3 separate regions of the Homo sapiens genome follow, and all the other regions are linked to region 1. Evidence: promoter capture Hi-C in 16 types of primary human blood cells and fetal thymus (Javierre and others, 2016). All regions are on one chromosome and are shown on one strand. The core of a region is centred on a gene start or on the middle of the fragment in contact, and the rest is flanking DNA. Distances in the headings are between cores, read along the strand shown.

Region 1 (2,984 bases), core at 315-2,814:
CATGTTGGTCAGGCTGGTCTCAAACTCCTGACCTCATGTGATCCACCTGCCCTGGCCTTCCAAAGTGCTGGGATTACAGTCGTGAGCCACCACGCCCGGCCCAAATGACATTATTTAGGGCAGAATAGAGAGCTTGCTCAGAGTTATGGGGAAATAGGAGGAACAGTGGTCAGAACCCAAAATCCATTCCTTTTCTTTCACCTGCATCTCTAGGAGACACCATCCCACCATCTACTAAATTTTCATAGACAGAAACTTGTACTTTGAGCAGACACATTTATCAGCTTTCTTCTGGAATGAGGTTAGGTGGCTGAACCTGCTCTTGGTTTGGCACCCAGTAGCCTCGCCTCTGGAAAACACCAGGGTTGAGGGTACCTGAGCTTTCTGCCGTTGCTAAGTGCCTGTGAGGTTGATTATGGGCTACTTGTGCTCCTGCAGCCCCTTCTCCTATAGGGTCAGAGACCCTCAGGAAGATTCACTCAGGCCACAGAAGGGCTCCAGCTTCTACCAGGACGGGAGTCTGTGGACTAAACCCGAGGCGCCTTGAGGAAACTGCCACGCCCGGTCGGCCTGGGCGTCCCCATTCCAGCTTTAATTTCCCTGAGTTTATCACCCTGAAGGAGCGGACGCAGGAAGCAGGGAAAAACCAAGGACTGGGCTGCCGGCGGGGCAGAAGGCCAGAAGCTAATGACCTAAAACGGAACAGGCTGTGAGCAATTCGATCAAACTCGAAATGCAACTTTCCAACAATGTTCTTAAACCGCTGTAGCCCCAGCTTGCTTGGCTTGGGGTGAAAAGTGTGGGAGAAAGTCTTCACGGCCTGCAGACTTGCTTGCCGACTGAGGTTGATCCGGCAGTTTTCCGTTTTGTTTTGAGCGCGAAAGCGTGGCTGGCTGGTGGAGCTCCAATCTATTCCGCAGCACAAACGGCCCTTCTGAGGCTCTGCTCCCCGAGGCTGGCGGAAGGAAGGGCACTGGCTACTCCGGTACCCACCGAAACAAAACCGACAAACGCAACCGAATTAACACTATTGCTTGTTTGGGTCACTGAAGAAAACTTTTCCCGTGTCGACAGAATTCTAGCCCGACTTTCGTTTGGAACTCAGGATCAGACCTTTACAAAATTACCGACCTGGGTTAGAGGTGCCCGCACGTGTCGAGACCATCTGGCCAAGGACAGAGAGATGCCCCCTGGGAGAATGTTTTAACCGGCGCAGCGGAGCCGCTTGGCTGCGCCCGCCGCAGCCCTACTCCCACTCCGTGCACCGGGCTCCGCAGTGACCCGGGCTCCGCAGTGACCCGGGCTCCCGCAGCGACCCGGGCTCCGGTTGCCCAGGTAACGCAGGACGCAGGCGCGAAAGGCGGGTGCCTGGCGCGCGCTGCAGCTCCCCCTCCCCCCGGCGGGCCGCGGAGGCGACGCGCTGCCTGCGCCCTGAGGCGAGTGGTTCTCCAGCCGGAAAATCGCGGCTCCGGTGCCGCTCTGGGCTCAGCCAGTGAGAGGCCGGGGGTGTGGTAGAGAGAAGGAGCCGGCCGGGTACTTAGGACCGCGCCAGCCTCTGAGCCCGGCCTCCTTCGCACTTTCGAGTGCGCGTTTGCTGCCCGCCGCAGCCCGGGCGTTGAAGGTAGTAAAGCGGCCACCCGGCCGCATCATGGTGACCCCCTGTCCCACCAGCCCCTCGAGCCCCGCCGCCCGAGCGGGGAGGCGGGACAACGACCAGAACCTTCGCGCCCCGGTGAAGAAGAGCAGGCGTCCGCGCCTCCGGAGGAAGCAGCCGCTGCATCCCCTGAACCCGTGCCCGCTCCCGGGAGACTCCGGCATTTGCGACCTGTTCGAGTCCCCCAGCTCCGGCTCAGACGGCGCAGAGAGCCCCTCTGCGGCGCGGGGTGGTAGCCCCCTGCCCGGCCCGGCCCAGCCCGTGGCGCAGCTAGATCTACAGACCTTCCGCGACTACGGCCAGAGCTGCTACGCCTTCCGCAAGGCGCAGGAGAGCCACTTCCACCCGCGGGAGGCGCTGGCACGGCAGCCACAAGTGAGGTGCTGGTAGAGCCAGCTCCACGCCGCCGCTCTTCCTCTCCTCCCAGGCTCTCTCCTCTCCTGCCGGCTCGGCCCTCCGAGCGCCCGGGCCCGCGACAGCCCAGGTCCCGCCCCGAGTCGAAGCACAAGGGGCCGTGGAGGGGCGTCACCGGCCTCATTTTACAGATGGAGAAAAGTGGGGCGTAGACGGCTTGAGGGACTTGCCCCGTCCCAAGCTGGCTACTGGGGCACGGTAGAGAGGAATTCGTTTCCGGGTTGAGTCTGGACTCCTACCGAACTCGGGCAAGTTATTTAACACCCCTGAGCTTCTTTCTTCATCTGCAAAATGGAACCCCTCCCCTTCCTTTGAATTGCTGAGCCCATTACGCGAGGTAACGTGTACGACGCTCTCTGCACAGCGCCAGGTCCCAATCCCGGTGTTCCGGCTCAGCACGGCCCACGCGTTTCCCAGTTTCCATTGCGTTTCTCTTTCTGAAATCTTCTTGCCCCTCTCCTGGGAAGCTCCCCGATTCTTCTTGGCCCTTCCTTCCCTTCCACAGTCCCTCTCCACCCTAAGCCCAGCGGGCCCGCCTCCCCCCTCCTTCCCGGCAGGTGACGGCGGAATCCCGCTGTAAGCTGCTCAGCTGGCTGATCCCGGTGCACCGCCAATTCGGCCTCTCCTTCGAGTCGCTGTGCCTGACGGTGAACACTCTGGACCGCTTCCTCACCACCACGCCGGTGGCTGCAGACTGCTTCCAGCTGCTTGGGGTCACCTCCTTGCTCATCGCTTGCAAACAGGTACCTGGGGTATCAAACAGGTACACGCGGCATCTGGGGACGCAGCCAAACTCCCCCGCCACTCCCTGGCCGCCCGTCTTTCCAGCGCGCACGATTCAGTGCTGGGTTCCCAGAACTCATTTTATCAGACATTTGCATACGCATATATCCCTTAGCCTTAACTTCACAATTTC
Region 2 (2,984 bases), core at 344-2,843, 470 kb before region 1:
ACTATTCTGCATTATCACCTATGTAATATTTGCTGTGGAACTCTAATTCACCTCTCAACCTAAGTCATCAAACTTCGGGATATTTTATACTTCTCATCAAGACATTCAAAAAAGCTTTAAGACTAGGCATGGTGGCTCATGCCTATAATCCCAGCACTTTGGTACTTTGGGAGGCTGAGGCAAGAAGATTACTTGAGGCCAGGCTGGGCAACATAGTGGCGCACAGCTGGGATCCCAGCTATTTTAGAGGCTGAGGTGGGAGGATAGCTTGAGCCTGGCGGGAGGAGGTTGCAGCAAGCCCAGATGGCACTACTGCACTCCAGCCTGGGTGACAGAGTGAGACCCTGTCTCAAAAAAAAAAAAAGAAAGCATATCTGTTGTCACCTGAAATTCTCAGGAGCAACGAGTACAGTTGTTTCTGTTGTGACAAAACTTGCACCATCTACACAAAAAAATAAAAATTAAAAAATTTAAATAAAAAAATTCCACCTTGGCTCTGTGTGGGGAAAAAAGGAGGGGACATTAAATTTCTGTTGAAAATTTAACATCATGCTAATTGACTAATTGAGACAACTGCAAATTACCAGTTTTCTTACAGTTCTTCATATTTACTTGAATATTATAAATCTTTGAAAGGCACCAGGGACTTTGAACTCCTCATTTATGATTTGTTATTTGAAATCATCAGTTTTCTACTTATTTAGAATAAATAGCTAATTCTGCTATGCTGCAGAACTTTGGATTTGCTCAGAACAAATACACATAGGTGACTAAACTGGAAATTTTAATTCCTCAGTGGCCCTTACATTTTTCCCCAACCTTGATTTCACTTTTTGATAAGGTTCACTGAAATCCAAGGATCTTTCTAGATTTCTCCTCTTTCCTGGTTTCTTCACTTTCAATCTTTAAGTAAAGTATTAATTTCCAGAAAGTGAAAGGATCTTCTCTCTCTAAACTCACCCACATTCTCAGTTTAGTTTAGGAACCAATACTACAGAGTATATTGGTTTACAAAGTAAATTAGAAAGTATAGCCATATATTTCTGCCATTGTTTAGGCAGATATGTTTTTGCTACTCTGACTTGGCTTCTGTCCTTTCCCTTGTTTCACTGCCACTGGAAGGGTTGTTGCTGGGTAAGGAAATATTGAGCCTTGAGACAAAAAATTTTGCAACAAAAGAAATTTACCTAAACTAGCTTGCTTCAAGAAAAACAGATTCATGGTGTTTAATGTGTAATCCGGATACCCAGGCATGAAATTTCACTCATTCTAGCCCTGATTATGTCTTAAAGAGTTTAAAGCCAGCCAGGCACGGTGGCTCCTGCCTGTAATCCCAGCACTTTGGGAGGCCGAGGCAGGCAGATCACAAGGTCAGGAGTTCGAGACCTGCCTGGCCAATATGGTGAAACCCCGTCTCTACTAAAAATACAAAAAAATTAGCTGGGTGTGGTGGCAGGCACCTGTAGTCCCAGCTACTCGGGAGGCTGAGGCAGGAGAATTGCTTGAAATGGGGAGGCGGAGGTTGCAGTGAGCCAAGATTGTGCCACTGCACTCCAGCCTGGGTGACAGAGCGAGACTCCGTCACCAAAAAAAAAAAAAAGAGTTTAAGGCCATTTGCCATTATAGCTATTATTTTATATTTACAAAACTAAACAAAGAAGACCTGATTTTCAGATGCTTCTTTTGTCTTCCAACCTAACTCCTCCTTTTTAAGGCAGACATCAGAGTATACTGGAAATAACATTTAGAATCAAAGTGACCTGGTTTCAATCCCAAGTATGGTTTTCTTAGCTTAGTGATTTAGGACAAATTACTTCTCTGAGCTTCAATTAATTTCTTTCTTTTTCTTTCTTTCTTTCTTTTTTTTTTTTGTAATATGAAGGTAATACCCATTTCCCAAATTCTAAGGATTTATTGGATTTAAACAATAACATGTAAAACATTAGGCCAGTATTAGGCATTCAATAAATAAATGTTAGTTCCATCTCCCACTATCTTCTATTAACTTGTGTTTTTCTCTCAATTTTCCTTCAAAAATGACACCAAGTTTTGTCTTTTTGATATCCTTTAGTGCTATCTTGTTTGTGGCAGTTCAATAATTCTATTATATAAAGGTCAACCTTTTTATTTTTCTTACCTTGCTGAGTTTGCTCACTTTATACTAAAGGCATGTAGATACATCAGCTGATTTTGTTCAGGCCGCTAAGTTAAGGCAATACATATTTTTTCTTTTTCTTTTAAAAAAAGTTTCTTCTTGTATGTCCTTCCAACGAGTAATTTTTCTAGTTTTAAACAGCCAAATTCATAATAAAAGTGATAGCTATGTTTGTTGAATATTCAGTGTGTACCAGCCACATTATATGTATTATCTCATTTTAATCCGAAACCCTGTAAGACTAGTATTTTTATTATCTCCAAAACCAATGAATCTTAGGGAATTTAAGTAAGTTGCCCAAAGTTGCACAGTTAATAAATGGCAGAACCAAGATTCACATCCAGGCAATCTTACTTGTGAGCTATCAACCACCACACACTACTTGATAGCACCAGAATAGCCCAAATCTCAAATTACCCAATGTGTGTAATTCAGACAAATTAATGCCTTGCAGTTCTTTCTGAAAGTGCTTTTATGCATTGTTGGAGATTTAGGAGTGATACGGTTCTGGCTACTTATCAATATTAAAATTTTTCTCTAGCATTTCTTAACAATTCTATGGATTGCTGTTCTTCCCTACAATATAAAAATTTTATTAACCTTCGTTAAGTTCAAAAATAATAATAGTAAACTCTTACACAGACTTTGGTAAAAGTTTGACATTTTTCTAAATGCTTGTACTTACTAACTTATAGGTTTTTAAAATTTTCATGTGTTTCAGAGTTTCCTGAATAAGTTTTTCCCAAGTTCTGTGTTATTCTTTTTGATGAAAGGATACTGGCTTCCCTACAATCATCTTTTCAACTTCTAAAATGTTTAATTTTTTAAA
Region 3 (2,984 bases), core at 127-2,626, 330 kb after region 1:
TGTCAATCCACTGACTTGCTTTAACTTTCTTCCTTCATTGTAAAGTCTTGCTCCCAAATGCTCTGTGAGGACACTCGTTGAAGTGGCTATCATTGATTTATATTTCTGTGTGAGGAATTCCAGCCCCTTTCTTCAGGGTAGGTTTTTACTCTGAGAAATTATGAAGATGGCAGAGGAATAGAAGGGTCCCCATGGGAACAAAAGCAGGACTGGCATTTGGGGGTATTAAGATACACACTTTACTGACTTCTAAATTTTCCTTGAGGTCTCTGAGTTCTGCTGTAAAATAGTTTGGCTGGCTTTCCATTACTCTCCTATGAAAATGGTAAACTGACAACTTCAAATAGAAAAAAATTTCATATTAATTTCTTCATTTCTTCATCAACTACTTATTGAGTACATGCTGTGTCAGCTGCTGGTCCAGACCCTGGGGAGATAACACAGCATCGATGGTCACTTGGATTAGAGCAGCAACAGAGATGGAGAGAAGCAGATTGATTTGAGTCATGTTTAGATGTAGGGCTAACAGGACTTTGGGTATAAGGAAAAGAGATGAATGAGTGTTGATTCGTAAGGTTTGGACTTGAACCATGAGATAGATGGTGGTGCTATTACAGAGATGAAGGGGATGAGAGGAGGACCAGGCTTGCAGAGCAGAAGTCAAGGCTTCCATTTTTGTCACATTAATTTTGAGATGACTATTTGACAACTGGGGGAAAATGGCAAGCAGGCCTATCTTATTCAGTTCAGGCTGTCATAACATAAGGCCCCATGGACTGGGTGGCTTAAATAACAAACATTTTATTTCTCATAGTTCTAGAAGCTGGGAAGTCCAAGATCAAGGTGCCTGCACATCCAGTGTCTGGTGAGGGCATTCTCCTTGGTTTGTAGACAGCTGTCTTCTCATCGTATCCTCACATGGTAGAGAACAGAGAGAGGAAGCTAGCTCTCTGGTCTCTCCCAATAAGGAAACTAATCCCATTAATGTGGGCTCCATTTTCAAGATCGAATTACCTCTCAAGGCCCCCACTCCTAATACCATCACATTGAGGGTTAGGATTTCAGCATTTGAATTTGGGCAGGGAGGTGGGGGAGAAGGCCAGACATTTGGTCCATAACAAGGGCTTTGGATACACAAGTAAGGCTGAAACCCAGGGGGCCCCTCAGAACCAGAAGTATGAATTTGGGAGTCCTTTCCATGTAGTACTTCAAACCATGGGGCGGGAAAAAATTTGTAGATGGAGAAGAAGAGAGCAGGTAGGGCTGAGCTCTGAGTGCAGAGATGGCTTAGAGGACATGGAGCTAGCAGAGGAGACTAAGCAGGTGCAGTCACTGAAGTGGGAGGTTAACACAGAGCCTGTTGCTTTATGGAAGCCAAGAAAGGAAAGGATTTCAAGGAAAGAGCAGTCAGTTTGAATGCTACTGAATGTAGGGCGAGATGAGAACAGAGAGTACCATCAGGTGTGGTGATTGGCGCTTTCTGCTCTCATCTCATCCTACCTTCAGTAGCTCAGCAGGAAACAGAAATTATACTGCCCTGATTGAATGGGTGCAAAGAGAAGGGGACATCATGTGCTTCAAAGAGTTGGATCAGAAGAGTTGGGGGGAAGTTAGGTATGGTGAAGGGACTATAATATCAGGAAAGGGATTTTTAGGATTAGAATATCCTTTTTAGCTGGAAAAATAGAGAGGGGGATATTGAAGATTGCAGGAGAGAAAGAAAAAGAGAGAGAGAGACGCCTTGAAGAAGCAGAAGGGAATGGGATCTAGAGGCAAGTGGAGGTTTGCCCTGAATAAGTAACTCTAGTGCCTGTAACAAGATGCCGGGTGCAGGGATGACGAGGCTGGGTTGAGGTTGGTCAAAAAGAGACTAAACTCCAAAAGAGGTGAGAAAGCGGAGACAGTGAAAGGAAATGACGCTTTCCAAAAGAAGACTTCTTTCTCTGTGCTAAAGGAAAGGATACATGTTGGGCTACGGAAATGGGATGGAATTTGGAGTTAAAACACTTGAGTCCCAGGATTGAGACTCATCTTAAGCTACTGAGTGTAGCTTACCTGCCCAACAGATTTTTCTGAGGGGAAAAAAGGGGCAATTCACCTACTCAAAAGAATCAAGATGTAATTATTTTCTTAGAATATCTCCACAATTTGATCATGAGGGCTTATCAAAATTTCATGAAAACAGACATTGCATGAATACTCTTAGTATCCACTTATTCATTCATTCATTCATTCCACAGATAGTCATTGAAAACCCATTATGGCCCAAGCACTGCTGCAGGCATTGGGGTTGCTCAGTGACCATACCAAGTCTCTGCCACATAGAGTTTACATTAGAGTGGGAAGGAAAACTATAAATAAGGATCTATGTATACCAGATGGTTATCAATGTTGTGGAGAAAAAGCAGCTTATGCAGAATGGAGGAGCTGTTATCTATGGTGACTATGGGAGTCCTCACCAGTTAGAGTACATTTAAGCAGAGACAGCAGCATGGGACAAGCCATGAGGACGCAGATGCTCCTCATTTTACAATGGGGTTATGTCCCTAGAAGCCCATCAGGAACCTCATAAGCCTATCATAAGTTGAAAATATTGTTAGTCAACAGTGTGTTTTCAACTTACGGTATTTTCAATTTACAATGGGTTTATCCAGATGCAACCCCATCGGGAGCTAAGGAGTGCACTGAATGTGCATCACCTTTGCACCATTCAAAGCAGAGACATTGAATGTTGAACCTTGCTAAGTTGGATGCTGTCTGTATTATAAGCATCACAAGCAGAGGAAACTGCAAGTGTAAAGAGCCTGTGTCCTTGGGGTGTTTGTCTACTATGAGATTGACTCTTCTTTTATACTCCACTCCAGACATATGTGGCATCTTTTTATTCCTCAGAGCTTCAAGTTTGACAAACTACTATATAGAAAGAAGAATTAATGTCTAGTGAAATAATACATTGCTAAAGTTTGACTAGGAAAAGTATGTAA

The links. The method cuts DNA at HindIII sites, captures the fragments that hold promoters and counts their contacts. A CHiCAGO score of 5 or more calls a contact.
Region 2: a contact is called between a fragment that was not itself captured here and the fragment with the promoter of CCNO in region 1, in 1 of 17 cell types (fetal thymus). The highest score is 5.1, in fetal thymus.
Region 3: a contact is called between a fragment that was not itself captured here and the fragment with the promoter of CCNO in region 1, in 1 of 17 cell types (non-activated CD4 T cells). The highest score is 5.2, in non-activated CD4 T cells.

What each region holds. Positions count from the first base shown.
Region 1 is chr5:55,232,188-55,235,171 of GRCh38, reverse strand. It overlaps CCNO (cyclin O), which reads left to right and starts at 1,564. Exons shown (of 3, transcript NM_021147.5): 1 at 1,564-2,029; 2 at 2,626-2,811. The coding sequence starts at 1,649. CCNO-DT (CCNO divergent transcript) reads right to left here and starts at 1,278. Exons shown (of 5, transcript NR_185977.1): 1 at 1,132-1,278. RefSeq lists silencers at 1,258-1,467, 1,337-1,631, 1,878-1,957 and enhancers at 2,106-2,745, 2,746-2,984. The HindIII fragment of the contact is 3,477 bases long and covers 1-2,984 here.
Region 2 is chr5:55,704,327-55,707,310 of GRCh38, reverse strand. The region is part of intron 2 of SLC38A9 (solute carrier family 38 member 9); the gene reads left to right. Among named protein-coding and RNA genes, the nearest start is that of SLC38A9, 6.5 kb to the left of the region's middle. The HindIII fragment of the contact is 2,954 bases long and covers 117-2,984 here.
Region 3 is chr5:54,897,943-54,900,926 of GRCh38, reverse strand. No RefSeq gene overlaps it. Among named protein-coding and RNA genes, the nearest start is that of ESM1, 86 kb to the left of the region's middle. RefSeq lists a silencer at 1,098-1,255. The HindIII fragment of the contact is 5,239 bases long and covers 1-2,984 here.